Regions from separate parts of the Homo sapiens genome. Here all the other regions are linked to region 2. Evidence: promoter capture Hi-C in 16 types of primary human blood cells and fetal thymus (Javierre and others, 2016). All regions are on one chromosome and are shown on one strand. Each heading gives the region's core, a stretch centred on a gene start or on the middle of the fragment in contact. The rest is flanking DNA. Distances are from core to core; before and after follow the strand shown.

What was found. The method cuts DNA at HindIII sites, captures the fragments that hold promoters and counts their contacts. A CHiCAGO score of 5 or more calls a contact.
Region 1: a contact is called between a fragment that was not itself captured here and the fragment with the promoter of EPOR in region 2, in 1 of 17 cell types (megakaryocytes). The highest score is 6.6, in megakaryocytes.
Region 3: a fragment that was not itself captured here is called in contact with the fragment with the promoter of EPOR in region 2 in 5 of 17 cell types (neutrophils, megakaryocytes, monocytes and 2 more); the score reaches 9.1 in neutrophils.

The regions. Positions count from the first base shown.
Region 1 is chr19:11,449,170-11,453,139 of GRCh38, reverse strand. It overlaps PRKCSH (PRKCSH beta subunit of glucosidase II), which reads right to left. Exons shown (of 18, transcript NM_001289104.2): 16 at 3,965-3,970; 17 at 3,712-3,874; 18 at 2,172-2,494. The coding sequence ends at 3,728. It overlaps ELAVL3 (ELAV like RNA binding protein 3), which reads left to right. Exons shown (of 7, transcript NM_001420.4): 7 at 1-1,814. Among named protein-coding and RNA genes, the nearest start is that of PRKCSH, 16 kb to the right of the region's middle. RefSeq lists enhancers at 134-904, 829-948, 979-1,028. The HindIII fragment of the contact is 2,960 bases long and covers 1,241-3,970 here.
Region 2 is chr19:11,382,232-11,386,526 of GRCh38, reverse strand. EPOR (erythropoietin receptor) reads left to right here and starts at 2,213. Exons shown (of 8, transcript NM_000121.4): 1 at 2,213-2,434; 2 at 3,295-3,430. The coding sequence starts at 2,320. RefSeq lists a silencer at 2,914-2,973. The HindIII fragment of the contact is 13,821 bases long and covers 1-4,295 here.
Region 3 is chr19:11,277,885-11,281,927 of GRCh38, reverse strand. No RefSeq gene overlaps it. Among named protein-coding and RNA genes, the nearest start is that of TSPAN16, 16 kb to the left of the region's middle. The HindIII fragment of the contact is 354 bases long and covers 1,872-2,225 here.

The sequences.
Region 1 (3,970 bases), core at 1,471-3,970, 66 kb before region 2:
GGCCGAGGCCTTGGCCCACACAGCTGAGGGAGAGGCCCAGCCCTGAGCCTCCCCCACCAGGACTGGGCCTCCCCGGCAGCAAGACCCCGGCACTCCCCGCCAGGCCCAGGGTGGGGTGGATGGGCCCAAAGGCCCAGCCCCACACTCCTTTCCCGTCCACTTGTCACCTACCTATCCCCTTTCGGTTTGTTGGGTTTTTCGTCTTTCCAGATTGCAGTGGACACAGCCCCCGATCTCGAGCCCCGGCCCCCGGCTTCTGTCTGGACATTGCATCGCCCTAGTTTTCTTTCTTTAAAAAAAAAAAATTCCAACAGAAGCCACAGGCCGGAGCCCCTGGGAGCCCTCGCACCGCTCCCCACCCCACTCAGCGGCCCCATCGGAACTGAGAATTGCAAAACCCCCGACTTTAGCTATAGTTAAGTTGCCTTCCCCCGGTGTCCCCACGTTTGGTGTCTGGCTATGGCGCCCCCATCTGACTGTCCAGCTCTCTCTCCCCCACCCCTCCCGGTGTTGTTATTAAACGTCTGTGGAGCTTCTGCTGCAAGGAACAAAAAAGAAAAAAATCAAAAAAGCGACAAAAAAACACAAACAGAAGAGGAAAAAAAAGCAACAAAAAAAGAAAACACACAGAAGAGATTTAAAAAAAAAAAAGGAAAAAAAAAAAAGACATAAACTGGCACCAGTTAACTTTCTTGTACTTTTTTGCTGAATTTAGCTTCTTGTAGTTTTAACTTATTGCTATGTTAACTATTTATTCTCCTCGTTGCCCTGTAAGGACATCCGTGTATATTTCTGTTACTTCATCCGGTTTGCAAGTTAAAGGAACGACAATGTTCTCTTTGTTTCTTTAAGTTTTGCCGAGACATGGTTATGCCTAATTTATTTATAAAAGGGGAAGTGGAATCATTAAAGTAATAATAATTATTAATAACAGTAATGGTAGCCGAGTGGCACGCGGGGGCGTGTGCTCTGCGGGACAGTCCCCACGGCCAGCGACGTCCAGGTCACCAATGGGATTCTTTTTGCTCTTGTCTTGAGAATTTTTTCAGTCCTATTTAGCTGGTGAAATCCCTAGCTTGTTCTTGATACACGAACCTATTTATTCTCGTGGTTTTAAGTCCTCCCTGCCCTCTCTCCTCTCCCCTGCAGCAGGGCAGGGACCCCTCTCCCCTGCTGTCTCTTGGGGCTCTCTCCCCTCCGCCCTCTGCATTCGGGAACACGCACGTCCGCGTGGGAAGCTTGCAGCAGGGCGTCCGAGCAATAAGGGCTGGGTTTGTCCCCCACCCTGGGGGGGGCCAGGCTCCAGAGAGGGGGCACCTCCCCACACACCCCCCCCCCACCGAGGCCTAGGCCCCTGCCACCCCCAAGACTGGGAGGGGACTTCTTTTTCTAAAACACAAAACTCAGCCCAGCCAGGCCCCCTCCCTGGAGGCCAGCCCCTCCCCGCAGGGGGCCAGGCCGGGGCTCCCAGGCGAGGGGGACTTGGGGCTTCCACGTCCCTGGGGGGCAGGGGCCAGGCCAGGGGGGAGGGGGCTCAGCCCCTCCACCCCTCCCTTCATCCTGTTATTTATTCGGAAGGTTTCAAATCACGACAGAGTCCATGTTGGAGGTGATAAAAAACTGTAAAAAAAAAAAAAAAAAAAAAGACAAAACAAAAGACAAAAAAAAAAAAAAAACCCAACAAGAACACTTCGCGTTGCGTTTAGACTATTTATTACCGGGATCACAGGCCTGGCCGCGGTAACAGACTTTTACATGGAATTGTTTAATTATTTGTACTTTTCATGCCAGAAAATAAAAGTTCAGAATCTTAAGGCCTTGGGTGATCTCTGCACCGCTGCGCGGGGAGCACGCAGGAGCAGCCTGTGTAGTAGCGCCCAGGCCCCCGTCCTTCTCTGGGCCTGGGTCTGTCTGCAGCAGGGGCTTTGGCCCCGGGAGGGAACCCTTGGCCTCCACAGAGCACAGATGAGACCCAGGGAAGGTGGGACACGGGCCCGGATGGATGCTCAAGACAGAAATGGTCCAGGGTCCATCCACCTGGTATCTTCAGGAGTGATCCCCAGATGGTGGGGGAGGCCCGGGTGGGATCTGCAGAAAGCTGCGTCCCCTGCGCTCAACCCCTGCCCACACCCCGGTCCACACCCCAGCAAAGCGAGGCAGACACAGACAAGTTTGGGTGGGGGATCACATTTATTGTATTGAGGTCACAGGTCAAGTCATTCACTAGTCCCCACTAGGAGGGGTGGCAGGGACAGGGCTGGGGGTGGTGGGGCGAGTCACCAAGGTGGGGGGCCCAGGGAGGGCAAGCTCCTTTACCCATCTTTGAAGGCTGTTGGGGCCTGGGAATGTGGACCAGCCCCGCCTGGGCCCCAGAGCAGGGCACGAAGCCCCACAAAGGTCCTGCCGCCACAGAGGAGGGCAACAGAGCCACAGGCAGGCCCAGAGGGGCGGGTGGACGGCACTGCAGGGGCTGGCTTCATGCCTTCTTGAGGTTCTGGGGCAAGAGAAAGACCAGATTAGAAAGCTGGGGACAGCTGGACATGGTGATGTTTGCCTGTAGTCCCGGCTGCTTGGGAGGCTGAGGTGGGAGGATCATTTGAGGCCAGGAGTTGACCAGCCTGGAGACCTTGTCTATTTTCTCTTATTATTATTATTTTTTTTTTTTGAGAGTCTCACTCTGTAGCCCAGGCTGGAGAGTGCAGTAGCATGATCTTGGCTCACTCCAACCTCTACCTCCTGGGTTCAAGTGATTCTTGTGCTTCAGCCTCTTGAGCAGCTGGAACTACAGGCACCTACCACCACACCCAGCTAATTTTTTTGTATTTTTAGTAGAGATGGGGTTTTACACCATGTTGGTCAGGCTGGTCTCAACCTCCTGACCTCAAGTGATCCGCCCACCTCAGCCTCCCAAAGTGCTGGGATTACAGATGTGAGCCACGACGCCTGGCCTATTTAGTTTCAAAAGTAAAAAAATCTTTTTTTAAAAAGCAGGGGATGGCCAGACATGGTAGCTCAAGCCTGTAATCCCAGCACTTTGGGAGGCTGAGGAGGGCGGATCACGAGGTCAGGAGATCGAGACCAACCTGGTTAACACAGGGAAACCCCATCTCTACTAAAAATACAAAAAAATTAGCCAGGCGTGGTGGCGGCGCCTGTAGTCCCAATTACTCAGGAGGCTGAGGCAGGAGAATTGCTTGCACCCAGGAGGTGGAGGTTGCAGTGAGCCGAGATCGCGCCATTGCATTCCACATTCCAGCCTCGGCAACAAGAGTGAAACTCCATCCAAAAAAAAAAAGGCAGGAGATGGCCGGGTGTGGTGGCTCATGCCTGTAATCCCAGCACTTTGGGAGGCCAAGGCAGGTGGATCATCTGAGGTCAGGAGTTCGAGACCATCCAGGCCAACATGGTGAAACCCCATCTCTACTAAAAATTAGCCAGGCATGGTGGTGCACACCTGTAATCCCAGCTACTTGGGAGGCTGAGACAAGACAATTGTTTGAACCCGGGAGGTAGAGGTTGCAGTCAGCTGAGGTCGCATCACTGCACTCCAGCCTGGGCCAAAGAGTGAGACTCCACCTCAAAAAAACAAAACAAAAAAGCAGGGAACATGGGGACACAGGTTGATAGAGTGGCCATGTGGGTCCATCTTCCTCAGGGCCCGCCGCCTCCCCTTGCTGGGGCAGGCCGACGAGACTCCACCTCCCCGCCCACCTCTGCGCCCATCCAGCTAGAGCTCGTCATGGTCGTCTTCGGTGGGTGCTTCAGGCGGTGGCTCCGGGCAGGCGGCTGGCGTCATCAGCTCCATGAGGTACTCGCAGCGACTGGGCTCTGTGGTGCTGGTCACCATGGTCTCTTTCCCGCACAGGAGGCGCACCTGGGGATGGGCAGACGGGTGCTCGAGAGGGTTCGGCTGGGCCAGGCCTGGGTCTCCCCGCCCCAGCTCCCCTGCCTTGCAGGCACTCACGGTGGT
Region 2 (4,295 bases), core at 964-3,463:
GTAAGGGCAGCGAATCAATAACAAAACATCAAATACATGTCAGGTGACAATAAGCACATTGGCTACAAACAAAAACAAAAAACCCACCTGCTTAATAGAAACAGGGTAGGAGTATTGCCATTTTATTTTATTTATATTTATTTATATTTATTTATTTATTTTATTTATTTATTTTTTTGAGACGGAGTCTCGCTCTGTTGCCCAGGCTGGAGTGCAGTGGCACAATCTTGGCTCACTGCAAGCTCCACCCACTGGGTTCACACCATTCTCCTGCCTCAGCCTCCCGAGTAGCTGGGACTACAGGCACCCGCCACCACGCCCGGCTAATTTTTTCTATTTTTAGTAAAGACAGGGTTTCACTGTGTTAGCCAGGATGGTCTCGATCTCCTGACCTTGTGATCCACCCACCTCGGCCTCCCAAAGTGCTGGGATTACAGGCATGAGCCACTGTGCATGGACTATTTATTTATTTTTTTGAAACAGAGTTTCAATCTTGTTGCACAGCCTGGAGTGCAATGGTGTGATCTCAGCTCACTGCAACCTCTGCCTTCTGGTTTCAAGCAATTCTCCTGCCTCAGCCTCCTGAGTAGCTGGGATTACAGGCACCCACCACCACGCTCGAATATATATATATATTTTTTGAGACGGAGTCCCGCTCTGTCACCAGGCTGGAGTGCAGTGGCACAATATCGGCTCACTGAAACCTCCGGCTCCTGGGTTCAAGCGATTCTCCTGCAGCCTCCCAAGTAGCTGGGATTACAGGCATGCAGCACCACGCCCATCTAATTTTTGTATTTTTGGTAGAGATGGGGTTTTACCATGTTGGCCAGGATGGTCTTGATCTCTTGACCTCGTGATCTGCCCACCTCGGCCTCCCAAAGTGCTGGGATTACAGGCGTGAGCCACCGCGCCCGGCCTACGCCTGGCTAATTTTTGTATTTTTAGTAGAGACGTGGTTTCGCCATGTTGCCCAGGCTGGTCTCGAACTCCTGACCTCATGATCCGCCTGTCTCGGCCTCCCAAAGTGTTGGGATTACAGGTATGAGCCACCGCGCCCAGCCAATTATTATTATTTTTTGAGATGCAGTCTCACTCTGTTGCCCAGGCTGGAGTTGCAGTGGCATGATCTTGGCTCACTGCAATCTTCATCTCCCAGACTGAAGCAGTTCTCATGCCTCAGCCTCCTGAGTAGCTGGGATTACAGGCACACGCCACCACACCTGGCTAATTTTTGTATTTTTAGTAGAGATGGGATTTCACCATGTTGGCCAGGCTGGTCTCAAACTCCTGACCTCAAGTGATTTGCCCACGTCGGCCTCCCAAAGTGCTGGGATTATAGGCGTGAGCCACCGGGCCCAGCCCAAGAGAATAAAAATGTGGGTGGTAAAAATTTTTTTCCCAAAAATTCGTAAATGAAAATCTCACATATTATGCATACTGCCCAGGAGCATGGCCTAGCACTGTGCAAACACTCAACTGCTGGTCGTTGCAAGGATTATTATTGGCCGGCTTCAGTGGCTCGTGCTGGTATTCCCAGCACATTGGGAGATGGAGGCTGGAGGATTGCTTAAGTCCGGGATTTCAAGACCAGCCTGGACAACATAGTGGGATCCCATCTCTACAAAGAATTTTAAAAATTAGCCAGGTGCAGTGGGAAGATTGCTTCAGTCCAGAGGCTGCAGTGAGCTATGATTGTGCCACTGCACTCCAGCCTGGGTGACAGAGCAACACCCTGAGACAGAGAGAGAGAGGGGGAAGGAGGGAAGGAGGGAAGGAAGGAAGGAAGGAAGGAAGGAAGGAAGGAAGGAAGGAAGGAAGGAAAGGAGAGAGAGAGAGAGAGAGAGAGAGAGAGAGAGAGAAAATAATTTTTATTTATTTCCAGGCTGGGAAGAGATGCTGATTTCTGCGATAAAATCAGTAGGTACATTTTTTGGAATGTTCGCTATGTGCCAGGCTAGATTTTACAGATGAGAAGTCTGAAGCTCAGGTAAGGTAAGTCACCTGTCCAGGGCCACAAAGAAAAAAAAAACGTGTGTCTGAAGCCAGAACGGGAGCTGTTGCGGCCCAACTCCCTCCCCTGCCCCCAAGCGGCCTCTGGGCTCGGGAAGGGCCCCTGCCTCCTCCCGCCAGGCACTTATCTCTACCCAGGCTGAGTGCTGGCCCCGCCCCCTCGGGGATCTGCCACTTAGAGGCGCCTGGTCGGGAAGGGCCTGGTCAGCTGCGTCCGGCGGAGGCAGCTGCTGACCCAGCTGTGGACTGTGCCGGGGGCGGGGGACGGAGGGGCAGGAGCCCTGGGCTCCCCGTGGCGGGGGCTGTATCATGGACCACCTCGGGGCGTCCCTCTGGCCCCAGGTCGGCTCCCTTTGTCTCCTGCTCGCTGGGGCCGCCTGGGCGCCCCCGCCTAACCTCCCGGACCCCAAGTTCGAGAGCAAAGGTAAGGATGAGCTGCGTGTGGACCCCTACGCTGGAGCCTGCAGGACCATGCTGGGGCCTGAACTCCCAGCCTAGGTCCTGGGGGCCATGCCTGTTTCTGGACTTCCTGACCGGGTCCTGGGGGCCAAGCTGGCATCTGAACCCTTAGACTGGGTCCTGGATGGGTGGGGGGCGGGGTGGGGTATGTTAGGATCCAAGACTCCTGATCGCGTCCCGGGCAAGAGCTAGAGTGGGCTTAACATTCCCGTTTTACCTTTTCAGGGAGTCTGGGACATGCTAAATCCTAAGGGGGCTGACTTGGTGCTAAGGTCCCTGGGGGGTGGGGACCAAGCCGACCCTCCCTAGGGGAGGGAGGGTAAAGCCCGGGTCCGAGTTAGAGGGGCCAAGCCACAGGCTACTGTAAACACGGTTTGTGTGAGGGCGCCAGATCACTTGCCCGGCCCGGTGGAGGGAGGGAGGCGGGGGGCACGGTTGGCGCTATCGGTTGGCGGGGAGCCTGCCGGGGCCGATAGGGGGCCCGCCTCTCCGCACACACCCCCAGCCGCGCGCGTGTCCTAGGCTGGGGCGGGGCTGGCAGTCCCGAGCTCGAGGTCTTGAACGCCGCGCCCAGCTCAGCTGGCCGCTGGGTGGGCAGGTGTGCGCCAGTGGTGACGGCGGGGGACAGTAAGGCGAGAAACTTGCCCCTGGGAATTAGGGGGGCACCACCTCTGCGGACCCCTCCAAGGGACCCGCTTGGGAAGATGGCAGGGCGGGGCTTTTTTCTTATCGGGTCCGCCCAGGCTGCGGGAGGGAAGAGGAGGGGGCTGTCTCCCGAGGATAGAGCTCAGACCCCCATGCCCTTCCTTTGTCGCCCCTCCCCAGCGGCCTTGCTGGCGGCCCGGGGGCCCGAAGAGCTTCTGTGCTTCACCGAGCGGTTGGAGGACTTGGTGTGTTTCTGGGAGGAAGCGGCGAGCGCTGGGGTGGGCCCGGGCAACTACAGCTTCTCCTACCAGCTCGAGTGAGTCCGATCCGGCGGGTGCCTCCAAGGGCGGAGGGAGGGGGTGGGGCAGAGCTCCCTGGAGGTCGTAGCCTCGTATGTCCCCTGCTGTTTGAGGCCCGACGGCGCCTCCAGTCGTGGTCACTGGAGGGAAACCTGCGGGTCCAGGGCTGGCACGCCCTCTATGGGCCGGGGCGCGAACACTCCCGCGATCACCGCTGGAACGCGACCCCAAACATCAGGCTGGGATAACAACGCCTCCAAATCGAGGGTAAGGCGTTACTACGTCGGGGCTGGGACGCCTTCTCGAGGTAGTATCCAAAAGGAGGCCAGCAGTGGCTCATGCCTGTAATCCCAACTCTTTGGAAGGTCGAGGCGGAAGAACCGCTTGAGCCCAGGAGTTCAAGACCAGCCTGGGCAACACAGCGAGATCCCCGTCTCTTAAAAAAAAATTAGACTGGGCGCGGTGGCTCACGCCTGTAATCCCAGCACTTTGGGAGGCTGAGGCGGGCGGATCACCTGAGGTCGGGAGTTTGAGACCAGCCTGGCCAACATGGAGAAACTCTATCTCTACTAAAAATACAAAATTAGCCGGGCGTGGTGGCGCATGCCTGTGATCCCAGCTACTCGGGAGGCTGAGGCAGGAGAATCGCTTGAACCCGGGAGGCGGAGGTTGCGGTGAGCCGAGGTAGCGCCATTGCACTCCAGCCTGGGCAACAAGAGCGAAACTCCGTCTCAAAAAAAAAAAAAAAAAAAGCCAGGCGTGGCGCGTGCCTGTGGTCTCAACTACTTGGGAAGCTGAGGTGGGAGGATCCCTTAAGCCCCAGAATTTGAGGCTGCAGTGAGCCATGATCGCGCCACTGCACTCCAGCCTGGGCGACGAAGG
Region 3 (4,043 bases), core at 799-3,298, 100 kb after region 2:
TGAATCTTACAAACTTTAAGCTATGTGAAATAAGCCAGACACGAAATGACAGATGTTGTATGATTGCACTCATGTGACAGTCCAGACTAGTAGATTCGTAGTTGCTTAGGGGTGAGGCGGCAGGGACGAGGGGATAGGGGAATGATAGCTAAAGGCTGTGGAGCTGCTTTTTGAGGAGATGAGACAGTGTTCCAAAATAGGCTGGGTGATGGTTGTACAATTCTGAATATAGGAAAAACCATTGAATTGTACACTTTCGAGGGGTGAATTCTATACTGTGTAGACTATATCTCAGTAAAGCTGTTTTTAACAAAAAGAAAGAAAAGTTTTTGCCTCTAGGCTGAGAGTGAGGAGAAGCTGCAAGCCAAACCTTGGCCCAAAGCCAGTCATCCATCCACAAGGCTGAGTGTGCAGCCCAGGGGCTCAACCTTAAATTAAGAGTAAACCTGGCTGGGCGCGGCAGCTCATGCCTGTAATCCCAGCACTTTGGGAGGCCAAGGTGGGCGGATTACCTGAGGTTGGGAGTTTACAACCAGCCTGACCAAGATGGAGAAACCTCGTCTCTACTAAAAAAAAAAAAAACAAAATTAGTAGGGCATAGTGGTGCATGCCTGTAATCCCAGCTACTCGGGAGGCTGAGGCAGGAGAATCGCTTGAAACCGGGAGGCAGAGGTTGCAGTGAGCCGAGATCATGCCATTGCACTCCAGCCTGGGCAACAAGAGTGAAACTCTGTCTCAAAAAAAGAAAAAAAAAAAAAAAAGAGTAAACCTGGGGGCTGAGCGGCAGTGCCTCATGCCTGTAATTCCAGCACTTTGGGAGGCCGAGGCGGGTGGATCACTTCAGGTCAGGAGTTTGAGTCCAGTCTGGCCAACATGGTGAAACCTTGTCTCTATTAAAAATACAAAAAAATTAGCTGGGGGTGGTGGCACGCACCTGTAATCCCAGCTACTCAGGAGGCTGAGGTGAGGCACGAGAATCGCTTGAACCCAGGAGGCAGAGGTTGCTGTGAGCCGAGATTGTGCCACTGCACTCCAGCCTGGGCAACAAGAGCAACATACTGTCTAAAAAAAAAAAGAGTAAACCTGGGCCAGATGTATTGGAGGCAATAGGATTGTTTGAGGCCAGGAGTTCAAGACCAGTGTGGGCAACATAGCAAGACCCCATCTCTACAAAAAAAAATTTTAATTACTGGGTCAGGTGATGGACACCTGTAGTCCCAGCTACTCAGGAGGCTGAGGCAGGAGGATCACTTGAATCCAGGATTTCAAGGCTACAGTGAGCTATGATCATACCACCAGGTTGCATCCAACCTGGGCAACAGAGCAAACCCCAAATAAATTCTTTTTAGAAAGAGTAAACTTGGGCCAGGTGTGGTGGCTTACGCTTGTAATTCCAGCACTTTGGGAAGCCGAGGTAGATGGATCACTTGAGGTCAGGAGTTTGAGACCAGCCTGGCCAACATGGTGAAACCCCGTCTCTACTAAAAATACAAAAATTAGCCACTGAGCATGGTGGCACATGCCTGTAATCCCAGCTACTCGGGAGGCTGAGGCATGAGAATCGCTTGAAGCCAGGAGGCGGAGCTTGCAGTGAGCCAGGATCGCGCCACAGCACTCCAGCCCGGGTGACAGAGTGAGACTCCGTATCAAAAAAAAAAAAAAAAAAAAAAAAAAAAGAGTAAACTTGAAAAACAGGAGAGAGAAGATGCCGGAAGAGAAGATGCACCATTGCCCAGGGTGCAGCAGGAAGGTTGAGGTCAGATCCTCCCAGCAACCCAAGCGAACCATCACCCAACTGGAAACCATTTCCTTTGTGGCCATGAAACAATGGGCTACAACTTTCTTTTGTGGCTCAAAACCACAGAGAAGCTTCCTATTGTGGGATTCACCACCACCACCACAGCAGAAGTTTTTTCTCATGGGTTCTGGGAGCAAATACAATGGCTTCTGAAACTGAGGTCTGGCTCTACTTCCTTGAAGACCTCTCCTTTCCTTTCTCTGCATGACAATGCTCCCCAGAGACTCTCTTCTTTCCCCATGCCACCTTTTGTACCCTGGGGTGGCCTTGTCTTAGTTTGGGTTCCGTGGAAGCCACCACTGAAACAAGGATTTAATACAAGTACTTTGTCTGAGAGGTGGTGATGCCAGGAAGCAGCAGTTGGGAAGAGGGGACGTGTATGAGTTTGCTAAGGCTGTCATGACCAAGCACCACAGACAGGGAAGCTTATAAAACAGGGCATTTCACAGTTCCGGAGGGTGTATGTCCAAGAATAAGGTGTCAGCAGGGTTGATTCTTTCTGAGGTCTCTCTCCTTGGCTTAGAGCCAGTTGCCTTGTTTCTGTGTCTTCACATAGTCTTTCTTTAATGCTTGTCTCTGTGTCCATATCACCTCATCTTTTCTTTTTTTTTTTCTTTTTTTGAGACAGAGTCTTCCTCTGTCCCCCAGGTTGGACTGCAGTGGCACAATCTCAGCTCACTGCAATCTCCACCTCCCAGGTTCAAGCAGTTCTCATGCCTCAGCCTCCCAAATAGCTGTGATTACAGGCATGCGCCACCACACCCAGCTAATTTTTGTATTTTGGGTAGATACAGGGTTTCACTACGTTGGCCAGACTGGTCTTGAACTCTTGACTTCAAATGATCCACCTGCCTCAGCTTCCCAAAGTGCTGGGATTACAGGCACGAGCCACTGCACCCAGCCCATACCTCCTCATTTTATAAGGATAGTGGTCATTTGGATTAGGGTCCATCCTAATGACCTTGTTTTAATTTGTTCTTTATTTTTTCAATTTATTTTTATTTTGAGGGGAGGGGATGGAGTCTTGTTCTATCACCCAGGCTGGAGTACAGTGGCCTGATCACAGCTCACTGCAACATGGAGCTCCTGGGATTAGGCGATCCTCCCACCGCAGCCTCCTGAATAGCTGGGACTACAGGCTGATTTTTAATTTTTTTTTTTTTTTTGGAGACGAGGTTTCTTTTTCTCTTTTTCTTTTTTTTTTTTTGAGACAGAGCCTTGTTCTGTTGCCCAGGCTGTAGTGCAGCAGTGTGAACACGGCTCACTGCAGCCTTTATCTCACAGGGTCAAGGAATGTGGCGCCTCAGCACTAACTTCCCCTCCTCTGTGTTCCTTGGAGATTTCTCTTACTTTTTTGTGAACTTAGCTGATAACTTAAAAGCATGTTTGCTGTATTTCATTCAGCGTTTTTGTTGCTATTGTCTTTTACTCTGTCACCCAGGCTGGAGGGCAGTGGCACAATCATAGCTCACTGCAGCCTCAAATTCCTGGGCTCAAGCGAACCTCCCTTGTCAGCCTCCCAAGTAGCAGGGACCACAGATATGCGCCACTACACCTGGCTAATTCTTTATTTTTTTTATAGACAGGGTCTCACTATGTTGCCCAGGCTGGTCTCAAACTCCTGACCTCAAGCCATTCCTCCCGCCTCACCCTCTGGAGGCACTGGGATCACAGGTGTGAGCCACCACACTCAGCCTTGCCCAGCTCATGTACAGGTTTTTTGTGGTTTTTGCTTGTTTGTTTGTTTTTGAGACAGAGTCTCGGTCTGTCGCCCAGGCTGGAGTGCAGTAGCACCATCTCAGCTCGGTACAACCTCCACCTCTCAGGTTCAATTCAAATGAATTCTGAATGTGCAGGGCTGGGCAGGGCATTCATGCACAATCTAGAAATTTCATGCACAATCTGGAAAAGTTAGGGCGAGAAGGGTTGGAGAGAGGAGGAGGCATGTGGAAACTGGAAGATTCAGCGATTAACAAAATTGCCTGGCTGGGCACGGAGGCTCACGCCTGTAATCCCAGCACTTTAGGAGGCCGAGGCATGTGGATCACCTGAGGTCGGGAGTTTGAGACCAGCCTGACCAACAGGGAGAAACCCCGTCTCTACTAAAATACAAAATTATCCAAGTGTGGTGGCGCATGCCTGTAATTCCAGCTACTCAGGAGGCTGAGGCAGGAGAATCACTTGAATGCAGGAGAATCGCTTGAACCCAGGAGAATTGCTTGAACCCAGGAGGCGGAGGTTGCAG